Linked DNA regions of Homo sapiens: all the other regions are linked to region 2. Evidence: promoter capture Hi-C in 16 types of primary human blood cells and fetal thymus (Javierre and others, 2016). All regions are on one chromosome and are shown on one strand. Each heading gives the region's core, a stretch centred on a gene start or on the middle of the fragment in contact. The rest is flanking DNA. Distances are from core to core; before and after follow the strand shown. Region 1 holds the start of SH2B2 (SH2B adaptor protein 2). Region 2 holds the start of ZNHIT1 (zinc finger HIT-type containing 1). Region 3 holds the start of ALKBH4 (alkB homolog 4, lysine demethylase). Region 4 holds the start of ORAI2 (ORAI calcium release-activated calcium modulator 2). Region 5 holds the start of ZNF3 (zinc finger protein 3).

Evidence for each region. Contacts are between HindIII fragments. The CHiCAGO score rates a contact against its expected background, and 5 or more counts as called.
Region 1: a fragment that was not itself captured here is called in contact with the fragment with the promoter of ZNHIT1 in region 2 in 6 of 17 cell types (naive CD4 T cells, non-activated CD4 T cells, fetal thymus and 3 more); the score reaches 7.9 in naive CD4 T cells.
Region 3: the fragment with the promoter of ALKBH4 here is called in contact with the fragment with the promoter of ZNHIT1 in region 2 in 3 of 17 cell types (naive CD8 T cells, megakaryocytes and endothelial precursors); the score reaches 7.7 in naive CD8 T cells.
Region 4: a contact is called between the fragment with the promoter of ORAI2 here and the fragment with the promoter of ZNHIT1 in region 2, in 3 of 17 cell types (naive CD8 T cells, total CD4 T cells and non-activated CD4 T cells). The highest score is 7.3, in naive CD8 T cells.
Region 5: a contact is called between a fragment that was not itself captured here and the fragment with the promoter of ZNHIT1 in region 2, in 1 of 17 cell types (fetal thymus). The highest score is 5.6, in fetal thymus.

The regions. Positions count from the first base shown.
Region 1 is chr7:102,286,161-102,288,860 of GRCh38, reverse strand. It overlaps SH2B2 (SH2B adaptor protein 2), which reads right to left and starts at 1,993. Exons shown (of 9, transcript NM_001359228.2): 1 at 1,767-1,993. RefSeq lists an enhancer at 246-335 and silencers at 1,486-2,025, 2,096-2,675. The HindIII fragment of the contact is 4,125 bases long and covers 1-2,700 here.
Region 2 is chr7:101,216,849-101,219,548 of GRCh38, reverse strand. It overlaps ZNHIT1 (zinc finger HIT-type containing 1), which reads right to left and starts at 1,384. Exons shown (of 5, transcript NM_006349.3): 1 at 1,332-1,384. The coding sequence starts at 1,353. It overlaps PLOD3 (procollagen-lysine,2-oxoglutarate 5-dioxygenase 3), which reads left to right and starts at 1,968. Exons shown (of 19, transcript NM_001084.5): 1 at 1,968-2,383. The coding sequence starts at 2,275. RefSeq lists enhancers at 1,037-1,578, 1,672-1,791, 2,340-2,700 and silencers at 1,892-2,171, 2,312-2,361, 2,422-2,541. The HindIII fragment of the contact is 814 bases long and covers 692-1,505 here.
Region 3 is chr7:102,463,413-102,466,112 of GRCh38, reverse strand. It overlaps ALKBH4 (alkB homolog 4, lysine demethylase), which reads left to right and starts at 1,250. Exons shown (of 3, transcript NM_017621.4): 1 at 1,250-1,399. The coding sequence starts at 1,277. It overlaps LRWD1 (leucine rich repeats and WD repeat domain containing 1), which reads right to left and starts at 1,129. Exons shown (of 15, transcript NM_152892.3): 1 at 953-1,129; 2 at 62-296. The coding sequence starts at 1,032. It overlaps MIR5090 (microRNA 5090), which reads right to left and starts at 371; the gene lies at 287-371. RefSeq lists enhancers at 1-201, 479-578, 202-728, 858-1,507 and a silencer at 919-1,348. The HindIII fragment of the contact is 18,940 bases long and covers 1-2,700 here.
Region 4 is chr7:102,432,173-102,434,872 of GRCh38, reverse strand. ORAI2 (ORAI calcium release-activated calcium modulator 2) reads right to left here and starts at 1,298. Exons shown (of 4, transcript NM_001126340.3): 1 at 1,212-1,298. RefSeq lists silencers at 889-1,668, 1,699-1,838. The HindIII fragment of the contact is 6,966 bases long and covers 1-2,700 here.
Region 5 is chr7:100,079,270-100,082,160 of GRCh38, reverse strand. It overlaps ZNF3 (zinc finger protein 3), which reads left to right and starts at 438. Exons shown (of 6, transcript NM_032924.5): 1 at 438-526; 2 at 2,505-2,625. RefSeq lists a silencer at 30-109 and enhancers at 1-193, 350-499. The HindIII fragment of the contact is 2,766 bases long and covers 1-2,633 here.

The sequences.
Region 1 (2,700 bases), core at 94-2,593, 1.1 Mb before region 2:
GAGAGGAGTGGTTGGGAGGCCTGGCTCGTTGACTGCGGGACTTTGGGCCAGTCACTTCCCCTCCCTAAGTGTGTGGGGATAATAATAGCACTAAACCCACAGGATTGTTGTAAAGATGACACGAACGGCGATCCTGATGCCCTTAGCTTGGCACAAGTAAGTTTGAAACCAAAAGCTCAGCCCTGGGAGGCCCAGGATCACTTGGGTGGAGATCCCACTTCCAAGACCCCCAAGGGAAGCCCACCCCTGGGTATTTGTATAGAAGTCCTCCCTAGGAGATTCACGCTAAGTAGGGAAGAGGGATTTAGAAACTTCAGACAGATTTTTCACAACAAGGGTAAAAAGAAAAGCGTGTGCATTAACCCTTGATTACCTAGAAGCATTCAACCAAGCAGCATCAGAAGCCGGCCTGCCACGGGGTGGGGCTGTTCTTGTATGTTGGTAGGACAGACCTCTAAGGAAGTAGCTGGTGGGAAACTGTCTCTGAGACCCCCAAAAATGCCCTGATCCACACTAGCCTAAAAGAAGTGCCACCACCGCCACCACCAGACCTCTCCCAAAGCTCCTGGAGCTGAAAAGTTCTAGGTCACTCTCCCAACCTCTTCCTGCGTGGAGTGGGGAGGCCAGGAGGGAAGAGGTTGGGAGAGTTCAAGGTGGGACACAGTAGTGGGGGCTTCAGCTCAAGAGGCAGTCAAAACCTCTTGGGGAAACCACACCCCCTGCCCCCAGTCCTCCCAGAGGAGCTCCAGGGACCTGACTCTGGGACGCAATTCCTGCCGGGAGTTGCCGGTCCCTTAGCCAGGAGGCAGGCAGCACCATCCCATTTTACAGGGTAGGTGATGTTGGCTCGGGGGCATTGGTAGGGCTCCACCCAGGTCTGACAGCCTAGCCTGAGGCTCTCCCTTGCACTAGCTCGAAGTGCACGTAGATCCTGGCTTATTCGTGTTCAGAGTCTCGCCTGGGGCTGCCCGGTCTGCCTTGCGTGGCTCCTGAGAGGCTCCAGTCACTGCAGACTTCCCTCCCTGAAGGCCCCCACTTCGGGGCTGCAGGGGGCCAGGATGCGTCCCTGCCTCTGCCCGGCTTCAGCCCGCTGGGCTGGCGCGGTTCCGGCCCGCGCAGCCCGCAGGTTCATCAATGGCCGAGGCCCAAGGGCCTGAATGGAGGGCACGAACCCGCCCCTTCTTAAAGGCGCCGGCCTCTTGGGCACCCTCCACGATCCTCCCGGCAATCGGGGGCTCCGGGGAGCTCCCCGGCTGGGCAGGTCGAGAAAGGGGGGCCTGGGCCAAAGGGAGGGCGTGCCTGTGGCCTGGAGGAGGTCCTCCCCGATCCCATCCCGTGGCCCTCACCCTCATTCTAGGTTGACGCCCCCTCCCAGCGCTCCCAGCGTAGGGAAGAGACCTGGGCACCCCTTCCCCCAACCAGAGACCCCTCCTCTAAGGACCCGGCTGCTCTCGCCCCACTACCCGGCCGGGGCCCTAGCAGGGGGCGGGGGCGCAGCTGCTCCAGAGGCGGCTCGGCCCCTCCAGCGGCTCCCCGCCCCGCCCGGGATGGGGATCGGGGAGCAGATCCCAGCCGGGGGCGCCTCCCCTCCCTCGCGCGCCCTCCTCCCTCCCACCCGCGCACACAAAGACGACACGCGCGGACCAAGGCGCGTGCGGCCGCTCTCCTTCGGGCAGCGGTGCGCACACAGCGCACGTCCCCGGGGACAGACAGGGGTCCCGGGGGAAGGACCAGGGAGCGAGGAACTGGGTATAAGGAGGCCATACCTACAGGCGCGCAGCTGCGGCCGAGCGGGCTGGGGCGCCGGCTGAGCGCTGCCCGGACCGCGGCCGGGCTCCCCGGGCCCGGTGGCTCATGGCCCGCGGCGGACTGGGCTCCCTCCCTCGTTCACCGCCTCGAAGGCTCCTGCGCTCCTCGCGGTCCCGGCGCGTCCCCCGCGCGGCTCTCTGGCAGCCGAGCTCCGCGCGCTCCAAGCCCAGCCCCAGCGCGGCGCGCCCCTCCGCCCGCGAGGCGCGCGCCTCCCGGCCCCGCCCCGCCCCCGCCCCCGCCGCGAGCCCCGGCCCCGCCCCCCCTCGCGCGTCCTGGCCCCGCCCCCTCCCGCCCCCACTTGCGCCGCTCAGGCCCCGCCCCCGGCCATCCGCGGAGCCCGAGCGGCGCCGGTGGCCGGTGCTTGCTGGCTCCCCGCAGCTGCGGTGCCGAGACTGCCCGGTCCTGGGGCCCGGAGAGAGGGGTTAGGAGCCGGCTCCGAGTCGCCCCATCTGGGCGGGGGTCCCCATGTCGCCGAGCCGGCCCCAGGCCAGGCGCGGGACTCCCACTCCTCCTCGTGGAGGCCACCCCTCGAGCCCGCGGTGGTGGTGGCCCCGGGAGCGCGGAGCGTGGGGCCGGGGGAATGTCCTGCGTGGCGGGTGTATGGGACGCGGACGCCCTCGAAGCGCCCCTCGCTGACGGGTGCTTCGCGGGAGCCGCCGCTGTGGCCAGACTCTCCGCAGCAGGGACAATGGGAGCCTGGAGGAGGCCTGGATGTCGCAACGGAGGAAGTCGACGCCTGGTTCTCATAAATCTCGAGGGCGCCACCACGCCCCCTCCCTGCAGCCCTCCGGTGCGGGAAATCGCCCCCGGGCCACAGGGCGGGACGGCCCCCCTGAGCGCAGTGCCCCCACCACCCAGCCTTCGCTGTGATGGGGGCCTGATGCCACCCGG
Region 2 (2,700 bases), core at 135-2,634:
AAGCTGAGGCCAGAGAATGGTGTGAACCCGGGAGGCAGAGCTTGCAGTGAACCGAGATTGCGCCACTGCACTCCAGCCTGGGGGACAGAGCAAGACTCCGTCTCAAAAAGAAAAAAAAAGAAAGAAAGAAAAACTAAAAGGGCCAAGCGCAGTGGCTCATACTTGTAATCCTAGCATTTTGGAAGGCCGAGGCAGGAGGATCACATGAGCTCAGGAGTTCAAGACCAGCCTGGGCAACATAGTGAGACACCCATCTCAACAAAAAATATAAAAACTAGCCCAGCATGGTGGCCTGCACCCACCTGTAGTTCCACCTACTCAGGTGGCTGAGGTGGAAGAATCACTTGAGCATGGGAGGTTGAGGCTGCAGTGAGTTATATAGAACCACTGCATTCCAGCCTGGGTGACAGAGCAAGACTCTGTCTAAAAAAAAAAAGTCTTTGCTGGCTCTCCAGTGTTTCCCTACAGAGTTCAAACTCCTGGGCAGTGTGTATAATGCCTTTCAAAATGTAACCTTTCCCCAGCCTTCGATCCTTTCTTATTACTCTGTAAGATCCAAACTGTGAACTTGGCTTCCTAAGCGACTTGCTTTTTCTTGCTTCACTGCCTTTGCACGTGAGGTTCCCACTGAGAGAAACCCTAACTAGACTTTCAAGACTCAATTCAAGCTTTTTCATTTTTCCTTCAAGCTTTCACAGTCCCCTGCCTCCCAGAACCTGGGCTAGATGCCACGTCTCCCTGTTCCCAGGCGCTGTGCTTCCCTCTGCCATAGCACAAATCACAAATCACAGTAAAATACAGTGTTAGGTCTGCGTTTCTGCCCCCCTTCCAGAAAAAGCCAATGCTTGGATAAGAGGGGTCTTTCTCCTCTTCATCCCCAGCGCCCGGCTTGGAGCAGGCACCAATAAAACGTGAATGAAGGGTCAACGCCAGGACCCGAGGGCTGAGGAAGGGATTTACGAGGAATAGCTGGGGCCGGGCGCGGCAGCTCACGCCTGTAATCCCAGCACTTTGGAAGGCCCACGCAGGAGGATCGCTTTGAGGCCAAGAGTTGGAGACCAACCTGGGCAACATAGCGAGAGCCCGTCACCACATAACAAATTAAAAATTAACCAGGCGTGGGGCCTCATGCTTGCAGTTCCAGCCACTCCGGAGGCTGAGGTGGGAGGATGGTTTGATCCCAGGAAATCGAGGCTGCAGTGAGCTATGACTATGCCACTGCACTCCAGCCTAGGCGAAAGAGCGAGACCAAAAAAGAGGAATGACTAGGTAAGAAAATTCTAGGACTGACTTGGGAAGGGGAAGGGGGCGAACCGCGGGGGCTCACATACCCGAAGTTTTCTTCTCCACCATTGGCACAACACAACTGTCGGAAGAAACTGCTGCGCACGCGTACTAACCCCAAGGCTTTAGTAGGGGCGCCATCACTTCCGGTAGCTTGTACTTCTGCGCGTGCGCCACAGCTTTGACTCATTACGTGGCGTTTCCTTGGAGACAAGAAAGCTTTTCGCCATGTTTTATAGGGGCAAAACCACTTCCGGCCTCAGTGTGGAGGTGTAAATCTTGTGGGAGCCACGAAATGGGTCATTTTAAAGATGTGGTCACGGTGTTCTTACAAGAAATCTTATTTTCCTTTGGTCCTTGTGAAGATGCTGTGATCACAAAGGCAGCCCCTGGAGCTTCTCCGGGCAGAAGAGGAGGTGGGCTGGACTGTCAAAGAAAGTGGCTGGCTTCCGTGGGCAATCCGAGGTTCCTAGTGGCCCTCTGCAGAAAGCTGAACTCCCAGTTCCCCCAGGCCTCCGTCCCGCGGCGGACTCCTAGGCTTCCTCCCTCCCTGTCGCCGCCAGCCTCTCGCTCTCCCCGTCTTCCGCCCGCACTCTCTGGGCAGGGCTGCGGCCAGGACCCGCCCCCGCGTCCCGCCCGACCCTCCGCCAGGGGTCACTTCCCCTGTCCAGGTTTCAGCTTCCACATGTGTCAAGCGGCTGGCTCAGCCCAGAGTCCCTGTCTCCCGCCCGCCGGCCCGAGCCGCCGCCCCTCCCCCGCCTCCCGTGCGCCCGGGACAATCCTCGCCTTGTCTGTGGCGCCGGCATCTGGAGCTTTCTGTAGCCTCCGGATACGCCTTTTTTTCAGGGCGTAGCCCCAGCCAAGCTGCTCCCCGCGGCGGCCGCACAGCAGCCCGAGCGCCCCCTTTCCAGAGCTCCCCTCCGGAGCTGGGATCCAGGCGCGTAGCGGAGATCCCAGGATCCTGGGTGCTGTCTGGGCCCGCTCCCCACCATGACCTCCTCGGGGCCTGGACCCCGGTTCCTGCTGCTGCTGCCGCTGCTGCTGCCCCCTGCGGCCTCAGCCTCCGACCGGCCCCGGGGCCGAGACCCGGTCAACCCAGGTGAGATCCCGGGGAGGCCCGGCACGGCCGAGGGGGCAGAGGCTGGCGTGCCTGCCAGCCTGGCCCGGAGAGGGTCGGAGGCTCGAGGAGGTGTCTGGCCCGTCCCCCGCCCAGCGTGCTCTTGAGGCTGAGTCGCGCCAAGCCCCTCGCCCATCACTACCCTGAACTGGGGTTTCCAGCCTCCCTATGCAAAGGGACTCGGAATTCCTGGGCACCACTCCCACCCTGCCCTCCTTGGGGTCAGAGTGTTCCTGGGTGAGAAGAGTTTAAGAATGGGAAGGAAGAAAGGGAGGGAAGTCGAGTGAGAGGGAGGACAG
Region 3 (2,700 bases), core at 1-2,500, 1.2 Mb before region 2:
GAGCCTGAGCCCAACAGAGTCCTGGCCCCAGGTATGAAGCTGGTGGGAGGCTCCCACTTACCGTCAGGAAGGGGTTGCCCTCCAGGCTGAGTTCCTCGAGCTTGGGGAACTGGCACAAGGCAGTAACATCCCCCAGCTGGTTGTTGGCGCAGCGGAGGACACGCAGGTGGGACAGGCCCAGGTTGTCCGGCAGCGTCTCCAGGTGGTTGTTAGACAGGTCAAGCTCCTGCAGCTGCGTCAGGCGGCACAGGAGTTTGGGGTCCAGGTGCTCGGAAAGCAGCTCCAATCCTGACAGGCTGGAGTTGGGGGCAGAAGGCTTAGGGGGCGGGCAGGCTTTGCACCCTACACCAATCTGCCCCGGGTACCTCAGAAGGCTTTTTCACCTGACATTTCTCGTACAAGTGTAGCCGCCCCGCCCATCCCCCCGTTACTTTATTTTTAGAGACGGGGTGTCACTCAGTCGCCTAGGCGCGATCATAGCTCACAGCTGCCTCCAACTCCTGGGCTGAGGGATCCTCCCGCCTCAGCCTCTCGAGTAGCTGGGACTAGAAGCGCGCGCCACTACTCCCGACTCCACACCACTTAACAAAAAAAAAAAAAAAAAAAAAAAAAAAAAAAAAAAAGCTGCAACTACTTTAGGACTCGGGGGCATCCTAGCCCCCTCTAGGATGCTCTTCCTGATCCTTCGGGGGCTCGTCTGTGCTTCCCAGGCCCTCTAACGATAGCGGCAGGCTGTGCCCCTAACTGTCCGGGCTCCCTTCAGGGGATGAGGCCCCTCGGGGCTCCCGGCGAGCGGGTGGGGCCACGATCTCCCAACAAGAAGACATTTGGACCACTCTGCCGAACCCAGAGGGCGATAACGGGGACAAGCGGGCCGTTGGGGAGGGTCCCCGCTCTTCTCCCCGACCGCCCGGCCCCGAGGACACAGCCTCACCCGCTGCCCGGCTCTTACTCCAGACTCCGGATCTTCCCCAGCCGGTCGCTCTTGGGGCGCCCGCGCTGCATTAGCAGCCGCGCCGAGAGGGGGCCCATGGCGAGGAGGCGCAGCCCGCGCTGACCCAGTCGGCCACCCCGGCGTGTGGCGTCGCCCTGCGTCTCCTGGAGCCCGGCACTGGCGTCCGCGGTAACTGAGCCCAGGAGGCGGCGCCGCGCGAGCCCGTGGGCGTTAACGACCGGAAGGAAGCGGAACCCAGGCCTCGTGCCCCCGCCCGGCGCGGACTACAACTCCCAGCGGCCCCCACGGCCGCGCCTGCGCACTGGCCACGCGGACGGCGCGATGGCGGCGGCTGCCGCCGAGACCCCCGAAGTCCTTCGGGAATGCGGTTGCAAGGGCATCCGGACCTGTCTGATCTGCGAGCGGCAGCGCGGCAGTGACCCGCCCTGGGAGCTGCCCCCAGCGGTAAGGGGTGGGAGAGGGGCCGCGCCCACAAACGTCGCTCTGCATCTGGGGAAACTGAGGTCCAGCTTGGCCATGATAGGGGCCGGGATCGAAGCCTGTGAGGGACCCTTACGGTAGGGGTGATGCAGGGTGAGGAGATGAGGGCTTTAAGGAGCGGGCTTGGGAGTGGGGAAGGAGCTGGAACGTGGGTGGGTTCGATTACAGGTCACCTCGGGGACTCTGGGGGGATCTGCCTGTAAACCTCGACGTAGCCTCTCGGGTCTGGCGCTGGGAGCTTCACGGGCCTGCAGGGAGATGACACGGAAAGGGTCGATCGAGGGTGCTGAATACCAGTCCAACGGTGCCTGAAGGCCGTGGACTGCAATGGGCAAGGAGACAGTGAATTCCAGTTAACTAACGAAAAGGAACTCAAGGATCGCTGCAACCCAGGAGCTGGAGGCTGCAGTGAGCTATGATCGAGCCACCTCACTTCAGCCTGGGCGACAGAGCGAGACTCTGTCTCACAAAAAGAAAATAAATAAAAAAAGAAAAAGAACTCAGCGCCTTTGGGCTGGCATGGAAGGACTGTGGTTGGTTGCAAGGGCATTCCAACCCAGAAAACTGCGTGGGGTAGGAAGGTGGATTGGTGATGCCTCAGGTGAGAGAGATGAGGCTGGAGAGGTTGTGGGGGGGGGGAGGTCTGATCACAGATGCTCCCCGGTGCATCAGCTGAGCAGGCTGGACTTGTCCCAAAGGCCCTGGAGAGCTCTTGAAGGGTTTTAAAGGAGTGATGAAGTCAAATGTGAATTTTAGAAAGATCCTGGGAAGGGAACGGGCAGATATGAAGGTGTGGAGGCTGGTAAGCCAGTGAAGACTGCCCCAACGTCCATGGTAAAAGTGCCCAAGGTCCTATGGAAACAGCATGGCATGCCTCATGAATTAAACATAGAATTACCCATGATCCGCAATCCTGCTTCTGGGTATATATCCAAAGGAACTAAAAGCAGGGTCTGGAAGAGATATTTGCACACCCATGTTCATATTCACGACATTATTCATGACAGCCCAAAGATGGAAGCAAACCAAGCATCTATCAAGATACCTGGGCCGGGTTCAGTGGCTCACGCCTGTAATCCCAGCACTTTGGGAGGCTGAGGTGGGCAGATCACCTGAGGTCAGGAGTTTGAGACCTGCCTGGCTAACATGGCGAAACCCTGCCTCTACTAAAATTACAAAAACTTGCCGGGCTTGGTGAGGCACATCTGTAATCCCAGCTACTCGGGAGGCTGAGGCAGGAGAATCGCTTGAACCCAGGAGGCAGA
Region 4 (2,700 bases), core at 49-2,548, 1.2 Mb before region 2:
TTGTCCAGGAGATATGGAGGGAAGACTGGCTGCCACCTGGGGGGTGGAGGGGGCAGGGAGATGTGGGTGGAAGACACTTGGAGCCTGGGGCTGTGGAATGAGCCAGAGGGTCTGGGCAGCATGACTGGGCGTCCAGCCACAGGAGAATGGAAGAAATTGGTGAGTGGAACGGTCTGGGCACTGCTAGATCATTCTGGTTTGGGACCACAGTTCAACCCAGGGAAATGGCTGGCCGACTGGCAGGAGTGGGACGCAAGGGAGAGCCTGGTGGCCTCCAAAGGAAGGAAGGGTGAACAAGAGGGATGCCCCATCAGTAAGGGTGGGCTGGGCTCAGGTCTGAGAGTGGAGGTGAAGAGCTCAGGGCAGTGAGGGCTGAGGGTGGCTTCCTGGGAGCCGCCAGGCCTCCCATGCCCCATCGGTGAGGCCCTGCAGATGTCCCCAGAGTGGGTGGGATTGTGGAGGAAACGATGTCTGTCTGCCTGGAGCTGGGTCTTGAGACAGGTCTCCAGGTCTCGAAGGAGCAGCCCAGGAGGGGGTTCAAATCCATCCTTTATGTTCCCAATGCCAACTGTGTGTGCCAGGCCCGGTGGCCCAGGGGGAGGGACAGAGTCTGGGCCTCACACTGGATCCCAGGCAGGGGGTGGGGTGGGGCAGGATGGAGCCCTGTACTTCTGTCAGGTGGCACAGACCCTAGAGGATGCTCCGGGACTGAACCTTGTGGGGTTGCTTTTTTTTTTTTTTTTTTTTTTTTGCTTTAATGAGCAGTCCGAGAAAACAGGTCTTGTAGAATAACGCGATCCCCTCTCTAGAGATGAGCTTTTCTTCCTGGCTGGCCTACTGGACACATTTCCAGAGGGCGGTCTTGGAGTTTGACTTCCTCTAAGCATCTGGGGCACCGGCAATGGCGAGTGTCTCTCTCCAGCAGGCGCACTGGGAGGGGGCCTCCCAGGGGCGCTAGGCTGCATCCCTGTCCCTCCCCCAGGGACGCCCCGGTGTCCGGAACCGGCTGCGCCGCCGACCCTGATCCTCTGGGCGCCGCACCCCGCCAGGGATCCCGCGGGGTGGAGGTCACCAACCCCGGATGGGTAGTGACCGCGCCCGGGCAGCCTACAGTCGTCCCCTTCCCCGCCGAGCGTCCCCGGTCCAATTCCGGCCCCCCCAGCCGCAGGGACCCCGCTCCCCGCGCCAGGCCCCCGCGCCGCCACACTCACCGGAGCTGCCCTCGCCCCGCCCGGCTCGGCTCCCGCTCGGACTGCGTGGCCGCGTGGCCTGTGGCCCAGTGGCCCGGCCGGGGCGCCGAGCGCGGCCCCCTCCCTCCTTCCGCCGGTCGCGCGGGGTCCCCCGGCCCCGCCTCCACCCCGCCCCCGCGGCCGCCGCAGCCGCTGCCAAGGCAACCAGGCGCCGCCAACACGTGACCCACCCGCGGGAGAGCCGCGGCCACGTCACCCGCCGGGCCGGGAGGGGCGGGGCTGGCGGCGCCTCCTCGGAGAGTGGGGGGGTGGGGGTCCCCGCCTCACCTGGAACCACCCCGGGATCGCGCGAGGGAGAGGAGCAGGGGAGGTGGGAAGACCCCGACCCGCGCGCATCCCTCCTGCCCCAGCTCCTGTCCCCGGCCCCAGCTCTGGGAGTCAAGGCGAGGCCCCCCACCGCCCCATCGGGGGTCCGGCTACCCACAGACCACGAGCTGGGCTTTCCCTGCCCCTGGGTCCGGGCGCAAAAGGGGAGCCCCAGGCTTGGCAGGGTGAGCCTCGGGGGGTGCCCAGCATTGGACGCTGGCTGCGTAGAGGGGCGGGGAGTGGGGACAGGGCGGGCGGGTGCAGGTGGGCAGTGGAGGGGAAAGGAAGGTGGGGAGGGGAGAATCCGTCTGGCCACGCCCGAGTTTTCACAGGATTTTTTTTTTTATTTTTTTGAGACAGGGTCTGGCTCTGTCGCCCAGGCTGGACTGCAGTGGTGCGATCACGGTTCAATGCAGCCTCGAATTCCTGAGCTCGAGTGATCCTCTGCCCTCAGTCACCCAAAGTGCTGAGGCTACATGTAGGCAGGAGCCACCACACCGTGGTAGTTTTTAAAAAATTTGTTTTTGTTTGTTTTTTGAGAGGGAGTTTTGCCCTGTCACCCAGGCTGGAGTGCAGTGGTGCCATCTTGGCTCACTGCAACCCCCGACCCCGGGGTTGAAACGATTCTCCTGTCTCAGCCTCCGAGCTACAGGTGCACGCCACTAGCCTGGCTACTTTTTTGTATGTTTAGTAGAGATGGGGTTTCACCATGTTGGCCGGACTGGTCTTGAACTCCTGACCTCAGGTGATCCTGCCTGCCTCGGCCTCCCAAAGTGCTGGGATGATACATGTGAGCCACTGTGCCCAGCCAAAAAAAAAAAAAAAAATTCTTTTTTTAGAGATAGAGTCTTCCTGTATTGCCCAGACTGGTCTTAAACTCCTGGCCTCAAGCAATCCTCTCTTAGCCTCTCAAAGCACTGGGATTACAGGCATGTGCCACAATGTCCAGCTAATTTTTAAATTTTTTAAAAAAATTGAGATGGGTCTTGCTATGTTGCCTCTGCTGGTCTCGAACTCCTGGGCTCAAGTGATCCTCCCACCTCAGCCTCCCAAAGTGCTGGGCATAGAGGCATGGGCCACCTTGCTTGGCCCCTGCCCAGGGTGTTGGATGGCACCATGAAGAGCTTGCACTGAGCTAATTGGG
Region 5 (2,891 bases), core at 1-2,500, 1.1 Mb after region 2:
GTTCGGAGGCAAGTTTTAAATCAGGGTTCATTTTTTAATATTGATGAATCCTTCAATAATTGTATGTTTACTGCTGCCCTTCGCGAGCCAGCCTGAGAAGCGCGGGCTCGACATCCCCGCGCGCCCCCGCCGCCCGCCCCCAAGGCCGGCGACGCTGGAGCACATGTCCTGAGGCCCAGGACCGTGGTCGGCCGCTTTCGCACATTCGTGGCCAGCAGAGGGCGCAGCCGGCCAGCCCCCGCAGCGAAAGATCCCCGAGTGCCGCGTCAGCGATCGCGCTCCTTGCCCTCGCCGCCTGCCAGCCGCCCTGAGTCAGCAAACCACAGAGAGGCGAGGACCTCCCATTTTCCTAGACAGAACAAGTGGGCGTTGGGGGTACGGGTGAGTGGCAAGAACAACCGACCCGGAAGCGAAACGAGGGGGAACTTCCGTTCTTTGTTCTGTCCCCGGTGTGTGGGTCTGTGACAGGGTCCAACAGGGCCTGGTCCGTGTCCGGTCCCCCAAATCTGTCGTCCCTGCCCCCAGGGTGAGTCCACGCGTCCCCGGGTCTCGCGGTGAGACGGAGGCTGTGGTCGCCGGGGAAGGGGGTGGTGTCTGTGCCACTGCGGCCCGCAGGGTCCCCCGGCCGGCCCGGAGCAGGGTTCGGGGAGGCGCCCCTCCGTCCCCTGCAGCCCGTCCTCTACTCCGCTTCCCCAGGGATCCCCCTAGCCTAGCGGGATCCTGCGTAGGGGTTAGTAATGGGGCTCCGGTTCTGGTTTTGTGACTTTAACGGCGACCCAGCTGGAGCGTTTAAAAGTTTCAGCAGAGCGGTAGGGGCGCCTCTCTCTTGAAAGCAGCTAATGACAGCGACCCTAACTTGGTATTTCTCCCAGACGTTTTTATTTGATGTTAACACAGTTATTCGCGCCCGTGGCAGGAGAGGAAGTTTATTTTTACGCAGCTGGGTCCAAGGATCAGAGAAATTCTGCTAAGCGTACGCAGTTAGCACGAGGGCTGGGAGTGGGTGCAGACGCCGATTCCAGGGGTAATCCTGCTGGAGCCCAGTGCATCGCGTGATACACCTGGCTCAGGCTCCGTTTTCAGTTGTATTAGATTCCTGGTTTGATCCTCTCTCCGGAAGTGGGATTGAATCCACATCGGTGTTTACACTCTGAAGGGCTTTTGTAAACTCCAGGAGAAGATAGCAGAGTGATGAACCTGAAACCGATGGGCTAATTAGAGGAACGAGCGTATTATTTTCTCCAGAAAAGACATCTGTGGAGAGTGGGCATCATTTGATTATACGTGTTTGATGGACAGTCGGGTGGAAGGAGAAGATTCTGTTATTGAAGCTCTTTTTTTAAAAAAATTAATTTTTATTTATTTTTGAGACTGTCTCTGGAGTGCAGTGGCGCGATCTCGGCTCACTGCAACCTCCGCCTCCCGGTTCAAGCGCTTCTCCTGCTTCAGCCTCCCGAGTGGTTGGGACTACAGGCGCCCGCCACCACCTCCGGCGAATTTTTTGTATTTTTAGTAGAGACGGGGTTCCGCCCTTTTGGCCAGGCTGGTCTGCAACTCCTGGCCTCAAGTGATCCACCTGCCTTGGCCTCCCAAAGTGTTGGGATTACAGGCGTTAGCCACCGCGCCCGGCCTTTTTTTTTTTTTTCCTTTTAAAATGTTTGTGTGTGTATTAAGGTCTTGCTCTGTTGCCCCCGGCTGGAGTGCCGTGGTGCCATCATGGCTCACCATAGCCTGGAACTCCTGGGCTCAAGTAATCCTCCCACCTCAGCCTCCTAAAGTGCTGGGGTTACAGGCGTGAGCCACTGCAGGTCGCCAGTCATTGAATTTCTGTGATGCACTAGGTCTCTGTGCGGTGAAGGTCCAAGGAGATAGATTTTCAGCGAATCACCTGAAGACTTCTAATGGCTCAGCTGTGCAATGTGGATCCCCTGCTGAAGTAGTTCGGAGCACAGTGTCTAGCAAGTTAGCTGACAGAACGTTAGAACTTTCTTACCCTGGGTGGAGGTGGACCTGAGAACCTACCATTCCCTTTCATCTCTCCACGGGTGCAACGCAAATACTAGTTGTGGTGGTGGTCTTAATTGGTATTTATTAGCATATAATAAGTATTCTCTTTTTTTTCCTTTTCTTTAAATGTCTTGATTAGAAATGAAGTTTAGGCTGGACTCGGTGGCTCATGCCTGTAATCCCAGCACTTTGGGAGGCTGAGGTGGGAGAATCACTTGAGGCCAGGAGATTGAGACCAGCCTGAGCAACACAGTGAGGCTGCATTTCTACAAAAAGAATTTTAAAAAACTCAGCCAGATGTGGCAGTGCACACCTTTAGTCCCAGCTCCTTGGGAGGCTGAGCTGGGAGGATCACTTGAACTTAGGAGTTTGAGTCTGGAGTGAGCTCAAACTCACTGCACTCCAGCCTGAGCAGCAGAGTCAGACCCTGTCTCATGGAAAAAAAAAGACGTTTGCATGAATATTTTAAATTCCTTTTTTTCCCCTTAATCACACAGCATTGGCATCAACAAAAGTCAGAATTCCCGGGAACTTGAACAGAGGCTGCTAAATTCCCAGTAATTGCTCCTTTGGCCTTCTAGGGACTGACTTCAAAGAAGGAAGGAAAGAATCAGGCAGGTAAAGCTTTCCGTGTCTTGTTCTTACTGCCAGGCCATCTATCTCGGTCCCCACGGGCAGCACCAGGGAGTGAGGCTGGCAACAGAGCAGGGGAAGGGCCCTGTCTGGACCTGAAGCCATGGGGGCACAATGGAGAGTTTTCTTTCTGTGAGAAACGCTGTTTACTGATCTGGACACTGGGTGCTTGTTCTCAACAATATGCCTTTGAGTTCCAGCTTCACTTAACCCAGCTGTGAGAGGGAGCTGTTGCCTTTTTCTCTGGAGTC